Regions from separate parts of the Homo sapiens genome. Here region 1 is linked to region 2. Evidence: promoter capture Hi-C in human tissues and cell types (Jung and others, 2019). All regions are on one chromosome and are shown on one strand. Each heading gives the region's core, a stretch centred on a gene start or on the middle of the fragment in contact. The rest is flanking DNA. Distances are from core to core; before and after follow the strand shown. Region 1 overlaps TNPO3 (transportin 3). Region 2 holds the start of SMO (smoothened, frizzled class receptor).

Evidence for each region. Contacts are between HindIII fragments. The study calls those that stand out against the background at their distance.
Region 1: a fragment that was not itself captured here is called in contact with the fragment with the promoter of SMO in region 2 in 2 of the 25 tissues and cell types used here (lymphoblastoid cells and pancreas).

The regions. Positions count from the first base shown.
Region 1 is chr7:128,954,058-128,958,241 of GRCh38, reverse strand. It overlaps TNPO3 (transportin 3), which reads left to right. Exons shown (of 23, transcript NM_012470.4): 22 at 927-1,018; 23 at 2,857-4,057. The coding sequence ends at 987. Among named protein-coding and RNA genes, the nearest start is that of IRF5, 18 kb to the right of the region's middle. The HindIII fragment of the contact is 3,933 bases long and covers 1-3,877 here.
Region 2 is chr7:129,187,048-129,191,176 of GRCh38, reverse strand. It overlaps SMO (smoothened, frizzled class receptor), which reads right to left and starts at 2,544. Exons shown (of 12, transcript NM_005631.5): 1 at 1,695-2,544. The coding sequence starts at 2,025. RefSeq lists silencers at 1,848-2,107, 2,338-2,607 and an enhancer at 3,237-3,326. The HindIII fragment of the contact is 17,880 bases long and covers 1-4,129 here.

The sequences.
Region 1 (4,184 bases), core at 662-3,161, 230 kb after region 2:
AACCTGGGAGGCGGAAGTTGCAGTGAGCTGAGATCGTGCCATTGCACTCCAGCCTGGATGACATGAGCAAGACTCCATATCAAAAAAAAAAAAAAAAAAAAAAAGGAAGTGCTTCCTTCTCCACTGCTTTAGCTTTTAGCTTAGCCTTATGTTCATTTAGCAAAAACTGTTATGAAGACAGATACAGTAGAATGAAGCTGGCATCAGCTGGTTTCTTGGTGACAGTTTTGGACAAAGGGAGGTCGGGGGGCTTTTGAAAAAACAGGGTCAGTTGAATATTGGGCTATTCATATCACATAGGCATCTCCTGCTTTGTCTCTCTTTCTACATGCTTTAACCCTTTCCTCTCTCCCTCCTCCTCCCACAGGAGGAAATCCTGAGCAGCCTGTTCAACTAGAAAATCAATGACTGGTGGAGACTTAGTTGCTAGACCGGCCTTTGTAAACAAAATCTATCTTTGGAAGAGAATGAGGAAACTTATGAGAGCCGTAGCAACCAAGTGTTGTTGTAGCAGCCTACATTTATTGAATACTATTTTGTTCACTGCTCTATTTTCATAAGCACTCTGTATGTGGACGATTTTAATCCTCTAAACAGTGTTATGAAGTAGATAATATTAATAGATGAGGAAACTGAGACAAAGATTGGTAACTTGTTCAAGGGCACAGTGGAGCCAAGATTCAAACTCGGGCAGTTTGTGTCCAGAGTACACCCTTTGAAGACCACCAAGCTTATAACTTTTCTCATATATAATAATTTTTGCCCTGAATTACAGAAAGATCTGAAGCCAGGATCGCTCAGGAGACGATGGAGAGAGCTCCTAGCAGAGTTGGGACGGTTCTCAGTGTGCCCCAATGTTGCAGTTGTTTTTCAGCATATTCTGTCTTTCTCCTCAGTCAAGGACCAACCTACCTTTTCTTTTCTAGTGCTGAGGAATGTAAACAAGTTTGCTGGGCCTTGCGAGACTTCACCAGGTTGTTTCGATAGCTCACACTCCTGCACTGTGCCTGTCACCCAGGTGAGGATACATAGTTCCCAGCTTTTGTCCGGACTGTCGGACTGTTGGGGATGCCTGGGAATGGGGATAGGTTTTAATGCCTATCATGGGACCAGTCTTATAGCTAGAGTCAGGGAAGGACTCAGCAGTTTAACTGTGGTGAACAGCTGGAATATACAGGGCCCGGATTTTCTTGGGCCTGGGCAGCCAGTAATTGTCAGTGTCTTTGGGGTACCATTTTCACCTCCATAAGAAAGTAACTGTTACACAGTGCATTGAAACATTTTCTTCCCCCTTCCCCTTACAGACACTTCTAAGATGGTAAGTGTACATGGCAACAAACAAATAAGTATTTTTAACCTGGCCACTTTGGCGAAAACAACCTCAAGTTGACTGTTATATGTGGTGCCAGTCTCCTAAAACTGACCCTCCAGATGTAATGAGCAAAGAGCTTATTCTTATCACTTTTATGACCTGAATGCTGAAGTGCCAGGTTTTGACCAGGGCAGGAGGTATGAATTGAATATCCCTTATCCGAAATGCTTGGGATTTCGGAGGAAAAAACACTTTCAGAAGTGTTTTTCAATTTTGGATTTTTTGGGATTTTGGAATATTTGCAGAATGCACACCAGTTGAGCATTCCTAATCCAAAAATCCAAAATCCAAAATGCTCCAATGCTCATTCGCTTGAGGGTCATATCAGCGTTCAAAAAGTTTCAGCTGTTAGGGATGCTTGGCCCTTACAGGAGAGGAGGAGCATCTTTGGCTCCCGATGAGCACTTTTCTCCACGTGCTTTCCGTCTCCTGGTTCTGAAGCAAAGCAAGAAGCTTAGCTGAAAGGAGTGGGTAGTAGAATTTGGGTGCCAGTTTCTTGATGGAGAGAAGAAAGGTAGCTCTCCTCTAAGCCCACCCTTTGATGTCTCAAGGTGAGTTTCTTCTCCCAGGAGGCAATTCTTGATGAATCTGTAGCACTCACTGGTAGTTTCTGTGTTAAATGCATTCATAGGTAAAAGTGATGTTCAGCAGTGCCTTGCCACACCCAAAATCATTTCTCAACTTTGATTGTTTTAATGAGTAATAATATCATTTGGGATGTCCTGGTTTTGCATGGTGTCTGGGTTAGCTGACATTGATACACCTCATAAGGTTGCTCATGGACAGCTGTAGGTGTTCATGGTTAACTTTTATTGTGCCCTTACTGTGTGTCAGGGCACTGTTTTAAGTGTTTTAGATGTATTAACTAAGATAATCCTCATCTGCTTTTCTGGATTTGTTACTATTTTTCCCATTTTACAAATGAGGAAATTGAGGTTCAACAATGTTTAACAATTTGCCTGACAGTTATTCGTGGAGCCAGAATTCACATGTAGATATTCTGGTACCAGAGTCCTCACTTTGAACCACTCCGCTTAATACAGTATCCTTTCGATAGCATCTAAATTGGTGTTTTGTTTTGTTTTGTTTTCAACTGTTATTAGTAGGCAAAGCCTTCTTTCAAAATAAAATCGACATGAAGCCTGTGGGATTTAGCAGACTGAGGCAAAGCTTCCCTGGTTGCTTTGGAATGGGAGGCCTGGACCTGCTGGCTCTTTGCCCTCCTGACACATCATCCCTTGTTTCCACAGCACACTCAGCATTGGAAGCACACTGCAGACGGTGTCTCATTAAAGCAGTAGCTCCCTTGAACCCACAAGTTAAAACGCCAGACTTTTATTTATTTGTTTATTTTTTCTGAGTTCTTATTGGCAGACTTCAGAATGAGGTACCTGAGGAAATATAGAAACCTCTGCCTTAAGGTTGATTTTACTAAATGCTCTATTTTCTGGTGCAGTTATTGACTGTCTTATCTCTTTTGTCAGGAATGTCTTTTTTAATTAGAAGACAGGAAGAAAACAAAAACCAGACTGTGTCCCACAATCAGAAACCTCCGTTGTGGCAGAGGGGCCTTCACCGCCACCAGGGTGTCCCGCCAGACAGGGAGAGACTCCAGCCTTCTGAGGCCATCCTGAGGAGTTCCTGTTTGGGGGTGTGAGGGAAAATCAGCGCGGATTTTAAAAAGATGGCTGTGGCCTGCCCGGCGTGGTGGGAGGGGAGCTGGTTTCCTGGTGAACTTTCTAAAAGGAAAAATAATTTTAAGTAAAGAAAAAAGAAAAAAAAGGAAGACTAAACAGAAACCAGAACTGAAACATTCACCTGGTAGCAAATGACACATGCACGCACACACACATACACGCACAAGCGCCAGTGCGCACGTGTACACAGAAAAACAAAAGGACAAGCTTTCTGTGAAACAAAATATTTACTTAGGGATAATGTGGGGATTCACATGAATTAAATAGCTGCAATTGGAAGAAGAGGGTCAGGGTCATTTGTTCAGGTTTTCTATTGTTTTGTCCTCTCTTTCCTCTCCTACCCTTCCTTCTCTTTCTCTCTCCCCTCCTTTTAAATGCAAATGAGTAGAAATTTCTTCTACCTTCCCCAGCTGTTTCTTCCCACCTTTAGAGTTGTTTAGACAAGGAGGAGTAAGCAAGGAACTTGTTCTGCTTTCTATCGTGGTCACATTGGTGATGCTCGGGACCTGCCAGGGTCAGAATTTATGGATATCTGAACCCTGACCCCGTTCATTCTCTCAGTCCACTTCCAATCCACATCAGTTTGTTGTCTGCCTTGGAGAGAAGAGCCAAAACTGGGGTGGGCGGGTGGGTGGGGAGTGCAGGATATAAATGTGTAAGTTTTTGTTTTTTAAGGTTTTTTTCTTAGTGAATTATTCACCCACAGACATGAGAGAAAAAAAGAGGGAGGGTGTGTGGAGAAAAAATGTTTACAGGGCTAACAAGGGATGATGTGTCATTTAGTATGTTACTAAAAAGTGTGGAAATGACTTGATTTTAAGGGGAGGGTGAGGCCGAAGAGGGAAGCCCAAAGCAGATCTTAATGTTTCAAAGGAGTGCAGCCCTTCACAGCCATCAGATATGAGGGCACTGTTCTGTCTGGTGTTGTAGCCATCTCAAGAACAAATCAACAGCAACAAAAGAGAAAGAATAAATTTTTAAAATTTAACCAGTGTTTCTTTGTTTTTACTTTCATTCACTGCCTTGTAGCTCGGAAATGGTTCAGCTAGACTAGCTATGGAAGCAGCCTTTGGTACCTGATAGACATCTGGGGATGGAGTTGAAAGGGCAGGCCC
Region 2 (4,129 bases), core at 1,295-3,794:
CATGGGTCCTTGCACAATCAATAAAGAGAGGGACAGAAAGATTATCCTCTGACAGCATGAGCAACTCAGAACTGGGTGAGATTCTAGTGCTGAGAGATTTGGACTTTCCACACAGCTGGCTCCTAAACTCAAGTCTCATTTTGGGTGGTGCTCAAAGCAATCTTGCTTAATCTCACTTTGGTGTTCTTTTTATTATTATTATTATTATTTCAGTCTTTTGCATGAATGTAACTTTAAAATTACAATTATTTTATCTTCTATGTATACCCATTCTTATATATGAGTATACATGTAACACATGTATGCAAACATCGTAAAAGAAGTGTATATGCAAAACCACATCCACCTTACACTATGGTAATCTGCAGAGTTTTCAAAGCCACTGTTGTTTACACATGATTTCTGTCTAATGTGCTGTGCTGACTTTAGAACCTGATCCCCAAAAAGGATGCAGCTCTTCCTCATGGGTACCATGGATACCATCCTCCAAGTTCCTCCTCCAGCATCTGCACCAAGCCAGGAACCTTATGGCCTTGTCCAACATCTGACAAAGGCCGAGAACTTGTCAATGACAGGCGGCCTACATACACTCCCTACATTAGGGTCCTCACCAGCCCCCTGGGCAGAGCTAAGAGATGGGGTACCCCAGCCCTGTCAAAAGAGGGAGGCTCCCAGTTCTGCTCCTGGCTCCTGGTTTTCTTTTCTTTTTCCCAGGACAGTTTTAGAATCATACTGGCTAGAAGCGAGGGCTGATAAGGCCAGCTCCCTTCCTCAGCACCCTCCAAGCCTCATCTAGAAAAGTGACAGGTGGGGGAGAGTATACTCCACACTGCTAAGGAAGGACATTTGGGTTCAGTGTGCAGTTTTTCAGACTCTGCCACTCCAGTGAGGGGGCTTTGGGACTTCAAACCACCATGGAAGTGTCCACAGGCTCTCAACACTCCAGACTTAAGCGTCCTTCCACAGCCCTGACCAGCCTCGGTAACCAAATTTCCAAAGAAAACACAAATAACTGTTAGAAAGGTCTTATTCCTTCATAACCTCCTGCATGCGTCAGAGGGCCGGTTTTTCAGATGCACAAACTGAATGAAATCTCCCGTGAAAGCCAGACAAGATCACAGTTCTCTAGGCTTCATTCCTGTCTCCCAAATCAAGATTTCCAGAACTTTCTGGTTACCTTTTAATAATTCATCACTAGGGAGGTTTCTTTTCCTTCAAAACTTCACTCGATCATGTCCCCCTACCCTTCCCTCCAAATGTCTAAACCTCTTCCTCCGTCATCCCTCCCCTTTTCCTCTCCAACTCCAATTTCCCCAGGGTCTTCAACACCTCCTTGAATCCCCCGGCACCCTGCTTCCAGAATAGGTGGAGCATCTCCTCTTCTTACAAAATGTCTTTTCCCGTGGCTTAGAGCCACCTCCTCACGGGCCCCTCATCCCCGCCATCCTTTGCTCACCCACCAGCTCAGGCCCTTTGTGACCCGCTTCGTCAACTTCCTTGCCCTCCTTTTCCCATGACCGAGGGTCCCATCCTGCACGTAACCTGCCCCCAAAGTTTCGGGATCTGTCCCTCCAACTCTCCCGGGTGCTGTCCCCGCCCTCTCCAAAACTCAGGCCTGAGCCTGTTCTTTCCAAGGGTGCCCCCATCTTACCGCGGCACCTCCCGCCCCCCAGACCCGGCTCCGCCGCACTTACCCGACCAGAGCACGAGCTTGCCGTGCGCTTCCTCCTGGGAGTCCGAGTCTCCGGCCAGCAGTGTGGAGGTGGCCCCGTAGGGCAGCACCGAGCCCAGGCACACGTTGTAGCGCAGCGGCTCGCAGGGGGCAGCCCGGCCGCAGTGGCTCAGCGGCGGCGGAGGGCCAGTCACCGCCGCGCTCCTCCTCGCGCTCCCGCCCGCGCTCCGAGGCCCAGGCCCGGTCGCGTTCCCGCTCGAGGCCGCCCCCCGGCCCGGGTCCCCCAGCAGCAGCAGCAGCAGCAGCCCCAGGAGCGGGAGCTCCGGCCCCCGCGCTGGGCGGGCAGCGGCCATGGCCAACCCCGCCAACTCAGCAAAAGCCCCGGCGCCCCCGCCTGCTCCTCGGAGCCCCCCGGCCACACGCACGACCTCGGCGGCCGCGGAGGCGGCTCAGGCGACCTGTGCGCCCAGAGAATCCGGGCCCGGGCCCCCCCGGACGCTCCGCGCGCCCCGGCCCCTCGGCGCCCAACTTCGCAAACTTTGGAACCCGGGGCCCATGTTGGGCTGCGGAGGCCCGGAACGGGATGCACGACTCCCCAAGCCCTAGCCTCGCAATCCAAGTTGTCTTCAGCCCTAGGAGACCCCTGGGCCCCCAATCCCCAGCCCCATTCCCTCTCCCACCATTAAAGCCACCTCCCCGCCCCGCGAGGGAGGCCAGACGCGGGCCGGGGGTGCGAGTGCAGCTCCGGCTCCGCCCCCGCGCCAGCCCGCGGCCCAGCAGCCACCTTCGCCCCAGCGCGCCGCAGCCCCCCGAACTCTCCCCGCCGGCGACCCGGCTCCTTTGTTGCTCTAGCTCGCTGGGCTCTCTGGAATGCACGGGCCTCGCGGAGCCAAGCCCGGCCCCCCTGCGCCGAGGCTGGGGGAGGGACTGGACGAAGGAGCGGAGAGGTGGGGAGGGGAGGCGAGAGAGGAAGAGCGCGAGCGTCAGCGTCCCTGGCGCCTGGAGGGGCCCGGGCTAGGGGGATCTGGTGACCCCGCCTGCCGCCGCCCCGCGCCCGGGGGAAAGAGATGAGTGGAAATCGTGGGCCGGACCTGCAAGGAGAGACTCGGCGGGCACCTTGCTTGGTCTGAGGTCGTCTGCAGGAAGCGGACTTTTCTCCTGGCTCAGGATGGGAAAGACAGGGGATGCCTGAAGTCAACGGGGACTTCTGTTCCATCTCTGCCCCGTTCTCCAGGCCCGCCAGTTTTTCCTGCTTTGGTTAGATTTTCCAACGTATCCCGGGGCCCCATGGAGAAGAACCTGGGTTTGGGGTTTGCGCTTCTCCAAATCCTTCCAGCTCGGGACCTTTGAGAGAGACGACCTCAGAGTCACTCACGGCAGCTGCTCTGGCTGCTGTTACCTGCGGGAACAGGTGTCTGGGAAATAAACTTGCCAACATCAAGCCTTTACTGCTACAAATATGTGAAGTCTGAACTGTGGTTCCCAGGGACTGGCCTTGGTTATGTGAGAAGGAAACCAGTCCTTCTTTGATGGCCCTGCTGCTCATCTGCTCTGGGAGGTTTCTGCTGCTCCTCTTCCCCACTCTGCTCATTTTGCCTTTCCTCACTCCTTTGAGCATCACACTTTTGGTCACCACACTTAATTTCCCACTTCAGCAGTTTACACCTGCACAACCAAGTATAACCCAGCATAACCACAAGGCTCCAAACAGGAGAGTAGACTTGCACTGAGCAACTTTTTCCTTGTTGCTGATCGGGCTGCACACCAGGGTGGGTTTTCCTTTCTTACCCCTGGAAGACTTGCTCATGGCCTAGCGGTAGTGGACTAGTTCTGTTACTTTGGACAGTTTAAGTGCATATTAGTTATTGCACTTCAACTATATCAATTGGAGAGAGAGAGAGAATTTAATTCAATTTAGCAAGTCTTTCTGAAATTCCAGCATGTACATAGCACAGAGACATCCTGGAGGAACCTGTAGACTTCCATTTTCCTGTGGATACATGGCTTGCTCTCAGGAAACATAGCATGACAGAACAGCAACGTTCCCTCCTTCAGGTCAGGGACCTTATCTCATTCTCTTAGTGTTCACAAAACATCTAGTTCACTTGAGCATACATAGTAATCACTTGATAAATAAGCTGCCAAAATGAGATGTACCGTGAGTATGCTATAGGAATAGGGGACAGAGGTCAGTGTGGATAGAAGTGGAGGAGGTGGGTTTTGAATCCAGGACTAAAGTGTGAGTAGGAGGAGTTAGAATAAGGACATAGATAAGTAGGGAAACTGATTGGTAAGAAGCCTCAAATAACACACAGAATTAAGGGTCAATTCTCTTGATAGTAAGGAAATCTCAAAGTTTTGACTAGGGGAATGATATTAATCTTTACTGGTTAATATTAGGTGATATGGTTTGGATCTGCATCCCCACCCAATCTCATGTTGAATTGTAATCCTCAG